Regions from separate parts of the Homo sapiens genome. Here regions 2 and 3 are each linked to region 1. Evidence: promoter capture Hi-C in 16 types of primary human blood cells and fetal thymus (Javierre and others, 2016). All regions are on one chromosome and are shown on one strand. Each heading gives the region's core, a stretch centred on a gene start or on the middle of the fragment in contact. The rest is flanking DNA. Distances are from core to core; before and after follow the strand shown. Region 1 holds the start of KIF20B (kinesin family member 20B). Region 2 overlaps ANKRD22 (ankyrin repeat domain 22). Region 3 overlaps FAS (Fas cell surface death receptor).

Region 1 (4,436 bases), core at 582-3,081:
CCCAAACTGAGACGGATTTCCTTTGCCTACAATCCTGTCAAAATCCTTGTTTATTCCTGCCATCTTGTTGTCAATCTTTTTCCTTGATCAGGCTGAAATTCCTAAACGTATCACAAGAACATAGTTGACTTTTTTCCCCTAAATTGCAAAAAGACTAAGGAAAGCACTGATCTAGATCATGGGTAAGGGGGTGCAGAGGGGGGAGCATCTGCAAAACGTTAAAGTACCGGCCTGACATTTCATAACACAGAGTTCATGGAAATGCCCAGAAAACTAAAAAACACCTGTGGCTTCAAATAATAATTTTTGGTTTAAAGAAAAGTGTTGATAAATCTTTTAAATTGCTGAATTAAAAAGAATATTCCTATGTACTAAAAGCAGTTATAATAAAGTATTTGTTCATATGCTCATTTTTCAATGAACAAACTACTTCCTAGCATTTCTAAAAGTGTTCAGACTTACTGTAACTTCTTGCGATTTTAGATGACTTCTACTTATACGTGGCCTTCCCAACTAAACTGGAAACTTCTTGATGGCAAGAACCTTGCCTTATACCACTCTGTATCCCCTATAACAAATTCAGCGACTTATGCAGGGATAAAGACTACCTAATGACTTAAAATAATGGTTATAAAGAAAATACTATTCCAAAAAAAAAAAAAAAAGTCGGTCCTAGTCTGTAATATTATCTTTCGTGACAGCAGGCTCCAAGACCTCATTTTTCATTTCAAAAGGCTGCTCTGACTGGAAAACTGCATATTTACCCTCTCTCCAATAAGAATCCACAATTGGAGACTTTGGTGAAAAATAGCAGAATCTGTTGCTGAATGAGGTTTCTGAATGTGGTCTACAACACAAAGCCTCAAAAAAAGTCTTCACAACTAATCGATGAGTATTTTATGTTATTTTTACAATTTAAAATCTGGAGTCTTGGACATGTAAGATAAATACACTGTTACACTACCTAACCCATAAGGCGTGAACTTCTGTAAACTAGTAGTTTAGCAAGAAATATAAGAGAACTGTGCCAGACATGCATCACTGAACCAGCGAGCGAATCGAGATGGAGAAAGCCTTCTAAACTGGGGAATGACAGCAGTCACTGTGCCACAAACTCTTCAGCCTGGCACTGCAAAACCCTAGAAGGGCAAGCCCCAAGGACCAGTAGGAGTAGTCTGGAAATAAGTGCACAGAGGCTACCACAGGGCTCCCCCCGCAAAAAGGCCGTGTTACCTACCAGCCGAGCAAACTGCTCACCTCAGAGCTTCAGAAAACTAGGTGTGGCAAAACAGGCCTGTTCCTCAACAACAACAGAAGCAACAACAATAATAATATTAATAACTGCAAACATTTAGTACCTACTGTGTGCCAGCACTAATAACTTTACACATTACCATTTAATCTTCACAAAAGCCGAAAGAAATAGACACTTCATTGCAGCCTTTTAACTGATAAGAAAACTAAGGTACAGAGAGAGATTAAATGAATTGTCTTGCGTCACTCAGCTAATTAGCAGTGGAGGCGAGATTTAAACCGTAACCGAATTAGTATGACTCATTCCTCGCTGCGTACCCCGTGTTCGCATCGCTCCGCAACCCAGTTCCTGACAGTAACCTCCACTGGGGTATGAGCCCTGTCGGAACATGTCCACATTGCCAAAGCCGTTTCCCCACCTTAGGCCCCATACATGCGCAGTCACCCACCTCCTTCCCCACACATTCCCGCGGGTCACCTCCTCACCTGCAAACTTCGCCTGACTAGCCAGACCCGCGAGCAGCACTGCGATGTTACCGTTTTCAAATTCAAACAATGGCGGCCAGGGCACCGCACTGAACGCTGGGAGTAGGTGGGGCGTCCAGAGCTCCGCCAGGGAGCGTAGCCGGCTCGCGCTGCGGGCTTTCCAGTGGCTACCGGAAGAAGCTCTCCAATATGGGGGCGGGTCTTGAAACGCGGGCAGCCAATGGGCGGAAGCAGGCGTGGGCCGCCCTGGTGCTGACGGTCTGGTTTGCCTCCCAGCTCTGCTAGCCGGGCTTTAGTAGTGCGCTTTCTCGCGGCTGTCATAAGTACCACGCTGTTGACTGGGACACCGATCTCCAATTCTGTCCTTGAGGCAATAAAGATGTGGCGAAGGCCCGAGGTGAGGCCACTGCCACTGCACTTAGTCCTGCGACTCCCCTAAGGACGGGCCGAGGAATGGCGGGCTAGCCACTTCCCAGTCCTGTCCCTACGGGGCAGAAAAAGGCTCGGCATCCCGGGATCCGGAGGGTCACTTCCCTCGCTGCATCCCCATTGTGCAACTGCCAGTCTAAAAATTGATATAGGTAAGCTTATGAATGCTAAAACTAATGAATGCAAGATGCTAAAACAAACAATTAACTGAAAGGTTGTAGGGAAGAGGATGTTAGTATCTCAAAGAATCACCCTACAGATCATTTCTTATTATAAAGGGAAAATAGAATTTTACACTGAAGAGATTTATTAGACATACCTTAACCAAGTGAAGATACTTAGCATCGCTAATATCACCCGATAGTATTTGTGCTAGAAATGTTTGACATTAATCATGAGGAAACAATCAGAAAAAAACAATGTAGAATATTCTACAAGACAACAGGCCTAGGCTCTTCAAAAATGTCAGTGTCATGACAGGAAAAAGAAAAAAACGAAGTGGAAAATTACTTTAGTCGAGAGTCAAAAGAAACCAAATGAAATTTGTGAATCTTGGCTGGTTCATAGTTTTTAAAAAAAAAAAAAAACTTCGAAAGACATTTGTGGACAACTGGGGAAATTTAAATATGAACTACATATTAGATGATATTGAATCAGTTTTAAATTGATTGCATGTGAGAATTAATTTGTGATTAAGTGGAAGAATGCCTTTGTTTTTGGAAGGCGCTTGCTAAAGTAATTAGCAGCAAAGTGTCACAGTGTTTGCGGCTTACCTTCAAAAGATATGGCAAAAAAATAGAGAAAGCAAATGTGGCAAAATATTAGTAATTGGTGAATCTAGTTGAAGGGTATAATGGTGTACATCGTACCAGTCTTGCAACTTTCTAAAATAACAGATTTTATAAAATAAAAAGAGGAGGGGGGAAAAGGAATAGAATTCTGATCTTTACCATGGCCTCCCAGGTCCTGCACAATCAAGTGTCAGCCGACCTCACTCCCCACTAACTGTACAGTAAGTTGATCTGCTCTGGATACCTCAAACACCAACTTCTTTCCAGCATGTATGAACCTTTGCATGGGTTGTTCCCTGTACCTAAATTCTCTCTTCTCCATTCAACACGTGGCACTTCCCTTCATCATTTAGGTTACGTCTAAAATAGTACCTTCTTAAAGAAGACTTTCCTGGCTACTGTATCTCAAGTGAGCACTCTTTTTTTATTTGCAGGTTCAATTTCATTTTTATACTTTTTACAACTAGCAATTGTTGTTGTTCCCCCACCCTGTAAAATCTAAGTTCTGTGAGTAGAATAACTGTGTTTTGTTTGGTCGCTAATGTATCCTCAATGACTCTCTAACACAAGACAAGCAAATCAATATTTGTTGAACAATGAATGAAAGCTGATGTGGCTGGGTAGAGACCATGGGGAGGAGTCAGGGGAGTGAATCTGTAGGCATGGGCCAAGGCCAGACCCTGTAAGCCTTAGCCAAGTTACTGACTTGAGTATTACGAAATGCTTACTGGATAACCAGTTTTAAGCATGGGCATGGTGCAATCCAATGTGCATCTATCTTTTGAAAAGGTTAATCTCCTGGAGAAACTAGAGGCAGCCAGGGAGGATGCTGTTGAACCAGTTAGGAGGCTGTTGCAAGAGATCCCAGGAAAAGATAATGATAATGTGGACTTGGAAGATGGCAGAGGAGTTGCAGAAAAGTATCCAGATTTTAAAGGTACTTTTTCCGACGTTTTTCATTTCAGCACCAGCTGCTGGGTTTTTCCCTTAGGGAGATGCAGAGCCAGCTTGATTGGGAAGTGCTTAAGATTTAGTACCCATTCCAAAGAATTCCATCTGTGCCCTTGAAATGAATATTAACATAAAATGAAAAATTTGGTAAGTTACATCAAGCTGATTTTTCTGCCCTGGCCACAGTCTCTACTGTTAGTAATAGCTAACTTTCTTTATGCCAGGTAGTATTCTTAGCACTTTATACTCATTTAATCCTAACAGTAACTCTGTAAGGCAATTTGTTGTTGTTACAGCCAATTAATAGAAGAGGAAACTGAGGCATGGAGCTAGTAAGGAAATAGTAAAGGTATCTACTAAATAGAAGTGTTGAAGATTAAATCAGGTAGTAGTGTAAAGTATTTATAAAAGTATCTGGCATATGTTAAATAATAACTTGCTTCAATTTATATAACAAACAGAGAGACTGGAATTTGAATCTGGGTGATCCGGCTTCAGAGTCTGTGCATTCTTTGGCCTCTCAAA
Region 2 (4,436 bases), core at 1,201-3,700, 870 kb after region 1:
TGCAATAATGATAACTTTCATACACTAAGCACCATCCATATGCCAGGTATTACTCTAAATGCTTTTTAAAAGACATCATCTGAAGATTAGTCTAAAAATATTCAGTGTTTGCCTCCCATGTGCTGAGTGCTGTGTTGAATGCTGGAGAAATAGCAGTAAATAAAATGGGGTTTACGGCCTGAACTTCAGTGCCTTCCTTCTCAGCACTGCCTCAAACCTCTCCTGATTCATGCTAGCCCTAAATACATGATTGTACATAATTAAGAAAAGAATTACAGTATGTCAGTTGCTGTGAGGGAGAGATACTGAATGTTGGGAGTAAGAAAAGACTTCTTGGATAAAATGAAAATTAAATTATGACATGAAGGGTGAGCTAGGTGTTATTCAGAAGAAAGGCAGGTGGTGTGTTTTATGCAGAGAGAGTATTCAGGGCAGAAGCCCAGATGGAAGGTACCAAACATGGTTTGGTTCAACCAAACTTTGAAGAACAGAAGTCGAGAAAGGCTGGAGCAGAGGAGGGAAAGAGGACAAGATCATGCTACCTGAAGTCTTGCTATTAAACTCCCATGGTGCCTTGTGAAGCTCTGTATAATGCTTTTTATAAACAGCATCTAATCAAGTGTAGTTAACCATATAATTTGTATATTATTTGCCTAAAAAACTGTCTTTTCTGCTCTGTTGAGCTCCTTGAATACAGGGTGCTATGTAGGTCTTATTTCATCACTAGTACTGCCCTAAACTCCTCCCCATATGCTTGTTTTCTATTTTATCTTTAGTAAAGATAAAGATAAAGACATTTTATCTTTAGTAAAGATAAAGATAAAGACATTTTGTCTTTACTAAAGATAAAGATATTTTATCTTTAGTAAAGATAAAGATAAAGGTATTTTGTCTTTAGTAAAGATAAAGATAAAGGTATTTTGTCTTTAGTAAAGATAAAGATAAAGGTATTTTATCTTTAGTAAAGAAAATGAATGCTTTTCCGACAGGCCCACCTACCTGTAAGCACTATACATAGTTTCCTTACTGAGTTGAATTTGTAGTATTTCATTTATTTATTCATCCATTTGATGGACATAAGTGTGTGCCAAGAAAACTTAGGAAAATGTAGGAGGTTCCTCATGGGCTAATTCTTGATCTAGACTTAAAGCTAGGCATAACTGAGACCAAAAAATCTCACCTGCAAAGCAATATATTACAATTTTAAAACATTTAAATTTTAATGTATTGGGTTATGACTTTTTTTTCGTTTTTGTGGTTTAATTATGCCAGTATTTCAAAACCTGCTTTTGTTTTTCCCGACCCAGCCCATCTGCCAAGCAGCCTATCAGAATGACTTTGGACAAGTGTGGCGGTGGGTGAAAGAAGACAGCAGCTATGCCAACGTTCAAGATGGCTTTAATGGAGACACGCCCCTGATCTGTGCTTGCAGGCGAGGGCATGTGAGAATCGTTTCCTTCCTTTTAAGAAGAAATGCTAATGTCAACCTCAAAAACCAGGTGAGGTCATGACATGAATGGAGAGTGTAATTGTTCATGATAATTCTTTTCTCTTTGAATCACTAGAAGTGGTGCATGTCATTTTTTAAATTGCTTGCAGCTCCTAATACGAACAATTATCTTAGCCTACTTTAGAAAGACTGACACATACCAAGGACATTTTATTAGGCTAAACAGCAAAATAAAACATAGTTCAATCAGCAGGCATAATTTGTGATAAATTATGTCTTTTTACCTCTGGTTCACTTATTTGGCTGGATAGAGCTTCTTTCTTTTCCTTCTTCCTCTCTTCATCCTCCTCTTTCTTCCTCTCCCCTCTTTCTCATTACTAACACAGAAGCAATGGCAAAGATTTCTTGGAAAAGAAATGCTGTTTCATTAGTTAGATTTTTACCTGCTATATTAATGTCCTGATCTCCAGAGGATCCTATAGTGTTCTTGTAGAATGAAAGAGTACTATTGAGAAATTTACCAAGGACAAATAAGCTCATGAGCCAGAGGTTACTTGAAGTCACACAAAAAGGTGTAAAGAATATATTTAAAGATGCAATATTAGCTACTTTGGAGCCTTCAGGACCAAGAAAGAGAAGAATATGTGTGTATTGCTGTGAAAATCCTTGTGGAGCCCTTTCTGAACATCTAGCATTTGCATCGTAGTGAAGGCAATATTTAAATTACACTGAATAAATATTAAGCCATTTTTTTGCAATCATTATGACTGTCCTGTACCCACTTATATGCATTCAAGGCGAGAAAACACTGGAAATCCCCCCTTGCCCCTTCTAAGTCATTTGGAGACTAGCTCATCAGGAGTAACAATGTATTATCAGAAAATTGATCATTACTGGACTTTTTTATTTATGCTTACTATTTTTGGTTTGGTTGCGATTAAAAGCAAGTCATGCCTGTGCTGAATGGAACAGATATGCAACATCGTGGACTATAATAGGATCTCTGTAGATCACTGCTGTGAAACCAGATATGTGGAGTTGCAGTGAGTGGTAGTGCCAGAAGACAGATGTCTGTGGGTTCCTGCGCTCTTTTAAGAGGTGCGCTCGTTAGGAAACTGAGGGAGGAGACGTTAGCCCATGGGCAAGGCTGAGGAGACACTTTTATCTCCGCTTTGCAGAAGAGGAGGGCCTCAGCCAGCCTGCTGGGATTTTCTGGTATCATAAAAACCATGAAAAAGACTTTAGTGGATACATTAGATTAATAGATTTTATCAGTAGAAGTTTTTGGTTTGCATTTTCCACTTTCAAATGTTTCTAATGTTAGCATTTAATATTTTTATTTTCTCCAAATATTAATATTTGTACATTAATAATTTGAACCTGTGATTTCTCATGTCTGAAATCTGTTTATAAATTATTTCCAGAAACACTAAACAAACAAACACCTTAAAAACAAACAAACAAACAAAAAGCTCTGCTGGAGATTCAGAAGCACAAGCCTATGGATTCTATTGATAGCAAATTAAATTAAAACATAAAGATCCTTGTTTTTGTCTGTCAAACTGACCAAGATTAAAAAAGAAAACAAATGTTGATCAGAAAGTTTAAGTTATTATTGTCTTATTAGAACACAATTTGATAGCGCAATATGAAAAGCATTAATACTTTTTATGCCAGGAATTCTATTTTTAGAAATGTAGGCAAAGGACAAATTTGGAAATGTTGACAAAAATTTATGAATGAGCAGGTTCAGGCAATATTATTTATAAAAATGAAAAGTTTAAAACTTGAAACGGGCCATGTGCAGTGGCTCATGTCTGGAATCCCAGCATTTTGGGAGGCCAAGGTGGAAGGATAGTTTGAGACCAGGAGTTCAAGACCTGCCTAGGCAACATAGCAAGACCCCCGCATCTCTACACAAAATAATAATAAGTAAAAAATTATCCAGGTGTGGTGGCACATGTTTGTAGTCCCAGCTACTTTGGAGGCTGAAGTTGAAGGATCGCTTGAGACCAGGAAGTCAAGGCTGCAGTGAGCTAGGATTGTGCCACTGCACTCCCGCCTAGGTGGCAAAGCAAGATCCTGTCTCACAGAAAAACAAAAACAAAAACAAAACCCTCAAAAACCATGAAATGTTCAAAAGGCAGGGCTTAGCTAAATACATCAGAGTAGTTCCACTCAATACTAAGCCATGCAGCCATTACAATCATATGTTTAAAAATATTGAATTGCATGGAAAAATGTACATATTCTAAATATACGTTTCTGAACTGAAAAAAGCAAGATATGATATTGCATATGCAATATCATTCTACATTTCAAAATTCCACATTTATGCATTTAAGAAGACTGGAAGAAAATACAACAAAATGTCAACAGTTAACTCTGGACCATTTAATATAATAATGGGCAATTTAAAATTCTATCGTTATGTTCCTCTCTAGTTTCTAAAATTTTTTTACAGAAAATATAAATGCCTTCATATTAGAAAAACAAAAAGTGTTCTTATTTAGGTACAGTGCCTTGCATAAGTGGAAACTAACCTCCTTTCTTTCTCTTGGGCTCCCTCTCCTCTTACTGATTTGATTGGTATTCCAATTACCACCTTCTGTTTTGCCTTATATTTATTTGTGCATATTTCTGTCCATCTTTGATTATGAGGCCCTAAGAGTTCACATCTCCCACAACCCTTGGAAGCTGACATCTATTACCTGATAAGTATTCACATATTTGAAGAATAAAATTGAGTTATATGCATTCTTCTAGACTATGCACATGAAGGAACATGAAAAACAGCCATGTGGTTAAGAGTTTTCCTATGAACAAACCACAAAATGGATAATCGTACACATGGTAGATGATTAAGGGATAACTATCAATTTTCATAGTAAATTCAGTCCTAAGTTTATATCTCAGTGTATCTTTTTTTCCAAAAACTAAGTGGGTATAAGAATCTGTCTTCTGATGAGCTCTGCTGTGTACATTT
Region 3 (4,436 bases), core at 294-2,793, 700 kb after region 1:
AGAAATAGGATGATTAGCAACAGGAGCATACAAAAAAAAAGGAAGGTTAGAATGACAAAGTACACTGCATGAAATGCCTTTGCCAAGAACTAACTTCCTTGGAGAAAGGGGAGAGGTTGGTTGGTATATATTCAGAGTGGGGATAGCTGTTACTGGCCACTGAGATTATCAAACTAACTCACATTGCTCTGACTTTTCATTTTACTTTCCAAAGTCCACAAATCCTGATAAGAAACAGTGTAATAAGGAAAAGAACATTTGAAGTTTTAAAAGCCTTGGTCAAATCTTGAGCAGCTATAAAATCTTTAACGAAGTGTTGTTTTCTCCAAGCCTAAATTTCATCCTGCATATGATGGAGATAGTAATATTTCTCTTGCATTGCTGTCAGAGCTGCACTCGGCCTGCCTAGTGAGCATGAGAGTTCTCTTTGTTCTCCCCTTTCTATTACTTTTTCATCAAAAGACAGGATATGTACTGATGAGTTTTGATAAGCATTAACATATTTATGCCAAAATTTATTATCTATCAGGCTTGTTATCTTAAAAACAAACAATTTTAAATAATATACATATTTGCATTAATTTACTTAAAAATAAAGTTTGTCACTGTATTGCTATTAGAAAGCATTATGTAATGTGTTCTCTTAAAAAATTCATTTATCTGATAGGTGTTTATTAAATGCCTATTGAGTCCTAGGAACTTTTTAGAAGTTTGATATTATGCAGGAAATAAGATAAACCCTTCATCACCAAAGACTTCACCTTCTTGGGATGCAGGCAGACAATACACAAATAAATATATTGATATCAAGTGCTAAAAAAATGCTATGGGGAAAGCTAGATGAAGGTAAGGGAATAGAGAATTAAGAAGAAAGTGACAGAAAATATCAAGGGAAGTGTGAGAAAAACATTACTAGTGACTCTAATTGTTAATGGTATAACTAGTTTTAAAAATATAAGCAGTTTAATCTGCTCTGCTCACCTATACAGCAAAATTAATTTCTGCTGTGTTTCCTAGGAACATGAATTCCTTAATAACTTCATATATTCTTTTTGATAAAACAAAATATTTACTACATGAGCAAATTATGACATGTAAATATATATGCTATTTTAGTAAGTAAAGATAATAGTCTGTCAATAGTAAAAAACAAACTGGAGATTCCCAGAACAAAATTCAAAAATAGTGCATAGGGCTATATAACATTGTAGCAATATTTAAAGAAAACAGAACCCAAGTCCAAGTATAATTTTATTTTTTGCTAGTGGTATTATACTGGTCTCTGAATGAATTGGTCTCTTTAATGAATTATCTTACAGAATGTGCCTAGCACAACTTCCTTGGTATAATGGAGATACAGTAAACCACAGGTTCTTTCGTTCCTCCAAAGTATGAAAACAAAATTTATTAAAATAAGAAAATAAGTAGTTGTTTTATTGAAAATCAGATTTTAAAATACTTTTTTTAGTATAATGGTACATATGCTTATTATAGAAATGTTGGAAAAGGCAGGAAAGTATAATAAGAACTTATGTATCAGGCCGGGCACAGTGGGTCATGTCTGTAATCCCAGCAGATTGGGAGGCCAAGGCAGGCAGATCACCTGAGGTCAGGAGTTTGAGACCAGACTGACCAACATGGTGAAACCCCGCCTCTATTAAAAACACAAAAAATTATCCCGGTGTTGTGGTGTGCTCCTGTAGTCCCAGCTACTTGGGAGGCTGAGGCTGCAGAATTGCTTGAACCCAGAAGGCAGAGGTTGCAGTGAGCTGAGATCATGCCACTGCACTTCAGCCTGGACTACAGAGTGAGACTCCATCTCAAAAAAACAGACAAACAAACAAACAAAAAACTATATATCAACAATCTGGAGATATTGCCGTTATTTTGTTGCATTCCTATGCATATAATACATACATACATGTATATGCATGAGCATATATATAACAGGTGTGTATATATATATATGTACAATGTGTATATATGAAATATGTGTGCAGTATACCATAGAATCCTTCTTATTGAATATGATGATGTGGGGAGGACTTCTTTGATCATTTAATCAAAAATGTCAATTTACATAGGAAATCACTTAAAAATACTGTAAATATTTTGTTTTAATTTATAAAATATAACTATATAATCATTTGACAATTTTGTGATATAGAAGTTATTATAATCCCAGGTTCTTTCTTAAGTCACATCCATAATGCATCACCTATAATTTCCTGTTTGTCTATTTTTCTCTTCCTTTTTCATTTCTTTCTTTTTTTCTCCTCCCTCCCTCCCTCCCTCCCTCCCTTCGTTTTTGATGAAAGGAAAACATAAACATACCAATAATCTCTATGAATGGCTTTAGAGATTTTTGTGATTTTTCCTACTACTTAACTTTTATTTTTCCCTCACAAAATTCATCAACAACATTTTAGCAGCTCATCTTTATTGAATTCTCCAAAGCACTCAACCTAGTTTTCTTAGAAATAAAATCTGTCTTTTCTCTGTATTTGTATTTCATTAATTTATGCAATATTCAATCAAATTACATATGAATATCACAACACTAATGAGCATAAACAGATTTGGAAGCAACTTAGATATTGATAAGCCTAAAATTCAACAAGAGGGAATTGAAGTGGGAAGAGTATTTAACATGGTTGGATGCCATCCAGGATATTTTATAGACGGATCAGGGAGAATCAGTTAATCCAGCCAGATCAGTTGGAAATTACTTAAGAAGGTTTATATAATTGAGGATTATATTAGAAATATATCAGAAAACATGACTTTGATACATACTATTTCAGTCTTTAAATATTCCAGAATTTACCTAAGGAATCCTACATCATATTGATAATGAAATATCATGTGTACAATATTTTCCTTTATTTTTGATTATTTTCTCAGGGTATTTTCGTATAAATTAATTGCTATCTTAGCAAGTATAAACAGTGGGTTGGGGGGAGGGGGGAGGGATAGCATTGGGAGATATACCTAATGCTAGATGACGAGTTAGTGGGTGCAGTGCACCAGCATGGCACATGTATACATATGTAACTAACCTGCAGATTGTGCATGTGTACCCTAAAACTTAAAGTATAATAATAAGAAAAAAAAGTTAAAAAAAATTTTTTTTCAAATTTTTGACTCATATATCCAAATGTATTTCTTAAAAGTTTGTAACAATTTACATTCACTTCTTAAATTAAAATAAAACAAAGCAAAACCGAAAAAGCAATAGACAAAAATCCTTGACAGTTTGATGTGCAAAGCATATTTTGTTCATTTTAATTTACATTTTAGGTTTTAAAATTATGAACAAAGATTTCAATTCATAGAGCAAATTGATTGTGTTTAGCAGGTTATAATAAAGCCAGGACGCCATTCTTTATTCGTGTTGGAGAAGATTTAAGTGTAAATGGGTTTAAGTATAAATGGGTTGGGTTATAGGGGAGATTTTTCCATAACGGTTATTAAAATCTGGACATGAAGCACAGGGAGACTGGTAGAATCTTTTCACAAACAGGACCCATCCTGTTTTACAGCTTGAGTGCTGGAAGCCTGGGAGGACAACCATGAAACATACTACAGTCCTTTTTTGTTCTATTAATCTATCACATGAACCCATGTGCTATTTTCCTTTTTTCAACTCTACTCAAAGTTGAAGAAATGTTTGCACAATTGCATTTTGCTTAGCTTCTAATTTACCAGTGTTTGAAGGATTTGTGATCTGAAATTAGTTTGCCCTTCAAAGTATTGATTTAAAAAAAAAAGCTGTTGGTTTCTGCCTGTTGCTTTTCTTATTCGTCTAGTTATTCAGCTGCAAAATGCAAATATATTTTGCAGGCTTCAGTGCCAGGACAGCTTTCTTAGAGACCTTCTGATTGAAGGGAAGTGCTGAGACATATCCCTTAAGAGGAGAAGTCTCTTGCTTTCAGAGTTCCACTATTGTTATGGTAGATCCTAATCAGTTTTGACATGATAAGCTTTCATATTCACAAATGAGTCATTTTTGCTTAGAAAAAAATGGAGCCAAATAGACCAGTCTTCTCATTTCAGAGGTGCATGTCACTTGTAAATTAAATTTATCCATAACCACATCAAATAAGCGTGATAAATATAAATAAAACTCATCTTTGGAAAATAATTTCATAGTTGTTTTTCTCTCAGTTATGTTATATAATATAGGGGAACCAAAAACTGTAAAATTATTATAGTCATGATTACTATGTGCTACTCCTAACTGTGACTTTCACTGTAATCTCTGGATGTTTTGTGTAACATACCTGGAGGACAGGGCTTATGGCAGAATTGGCCATCATGATGCAGGCCTTCCAAGTTCTGAGTCTCAACTGTAGTAACAGTCTTCCTCAATTCCAATCCCTTGGAGTTGATGTCAGTCACTTGGGCATTAACACTTTTGGACGATAATCTAGCAA

Evidence for each region. The method cuts DNA at HindIII sites, captures the fragments that hold promoters and counts their contacts. A CHiCAGO score of 5 or more calls a contact.
Region 2: a contact is called between a fragment that was not itself captured here and the fragment with the promoter of KIF20B in region 1, in 1 of 17 cell types (neutrophils). The highest score is 5.8, in neutrophils.
Region 3: a fragment that was not itself captured here is called in contact with the fragment with the promoter of KIF20B in region 1 in 1 of 17 cell types (neutrophils); the score reaches 7.0 in neutrophils.

Annotation. Positions count from the first base shown.
Region 1 is chr10:89,698,985-89,703,420 of GRCh38, reverse strand. It overlaps KIF20B (kinesin family member 20B), which reads right to left and starts at 1,831. Exons shown (of 33, transcript NM_001284259.2): 1 at 1,741-1,831. RefSeq lists enhancers at 1,153-1,669, 1,670-2,185 and a silencer at 2,230-2,309. The HindIII fragment of the contact is 4,302 bases long and covers 1-2,328 here.
Region 2 is chr10:88,828,898-88,833,333 of GRCh38, reverse strand. It overlaps ANKRD22 (ankyrin repeat domain 22), which reads left to right. Exons shown (of 6, transcript NM_144590.3): 2 at 1,308-1,499. Among named protein-coding and RNA genes, the nearest start is that of ANKRD22, 21 kb to the left of the region's middle. The HindIII fragment of the contact is 5,846 bases long and covers 1-4,436 here.
Region 3 is chr10:89,003,042-89,007,477 of GRCh38, reverse strand. FAS (Fas cell surface death receptor) reads right to left here. Exons shown (of 9, transcript NM_000043.6): 2 at 4,284-4,436. Among named protein-coding and RNA genes, the nearest start is that of FAS-AS1, 12 kb to the right of the region's middle. The HindIII fragment of the contact is 4,885 bases long and covers 1-3,985 here.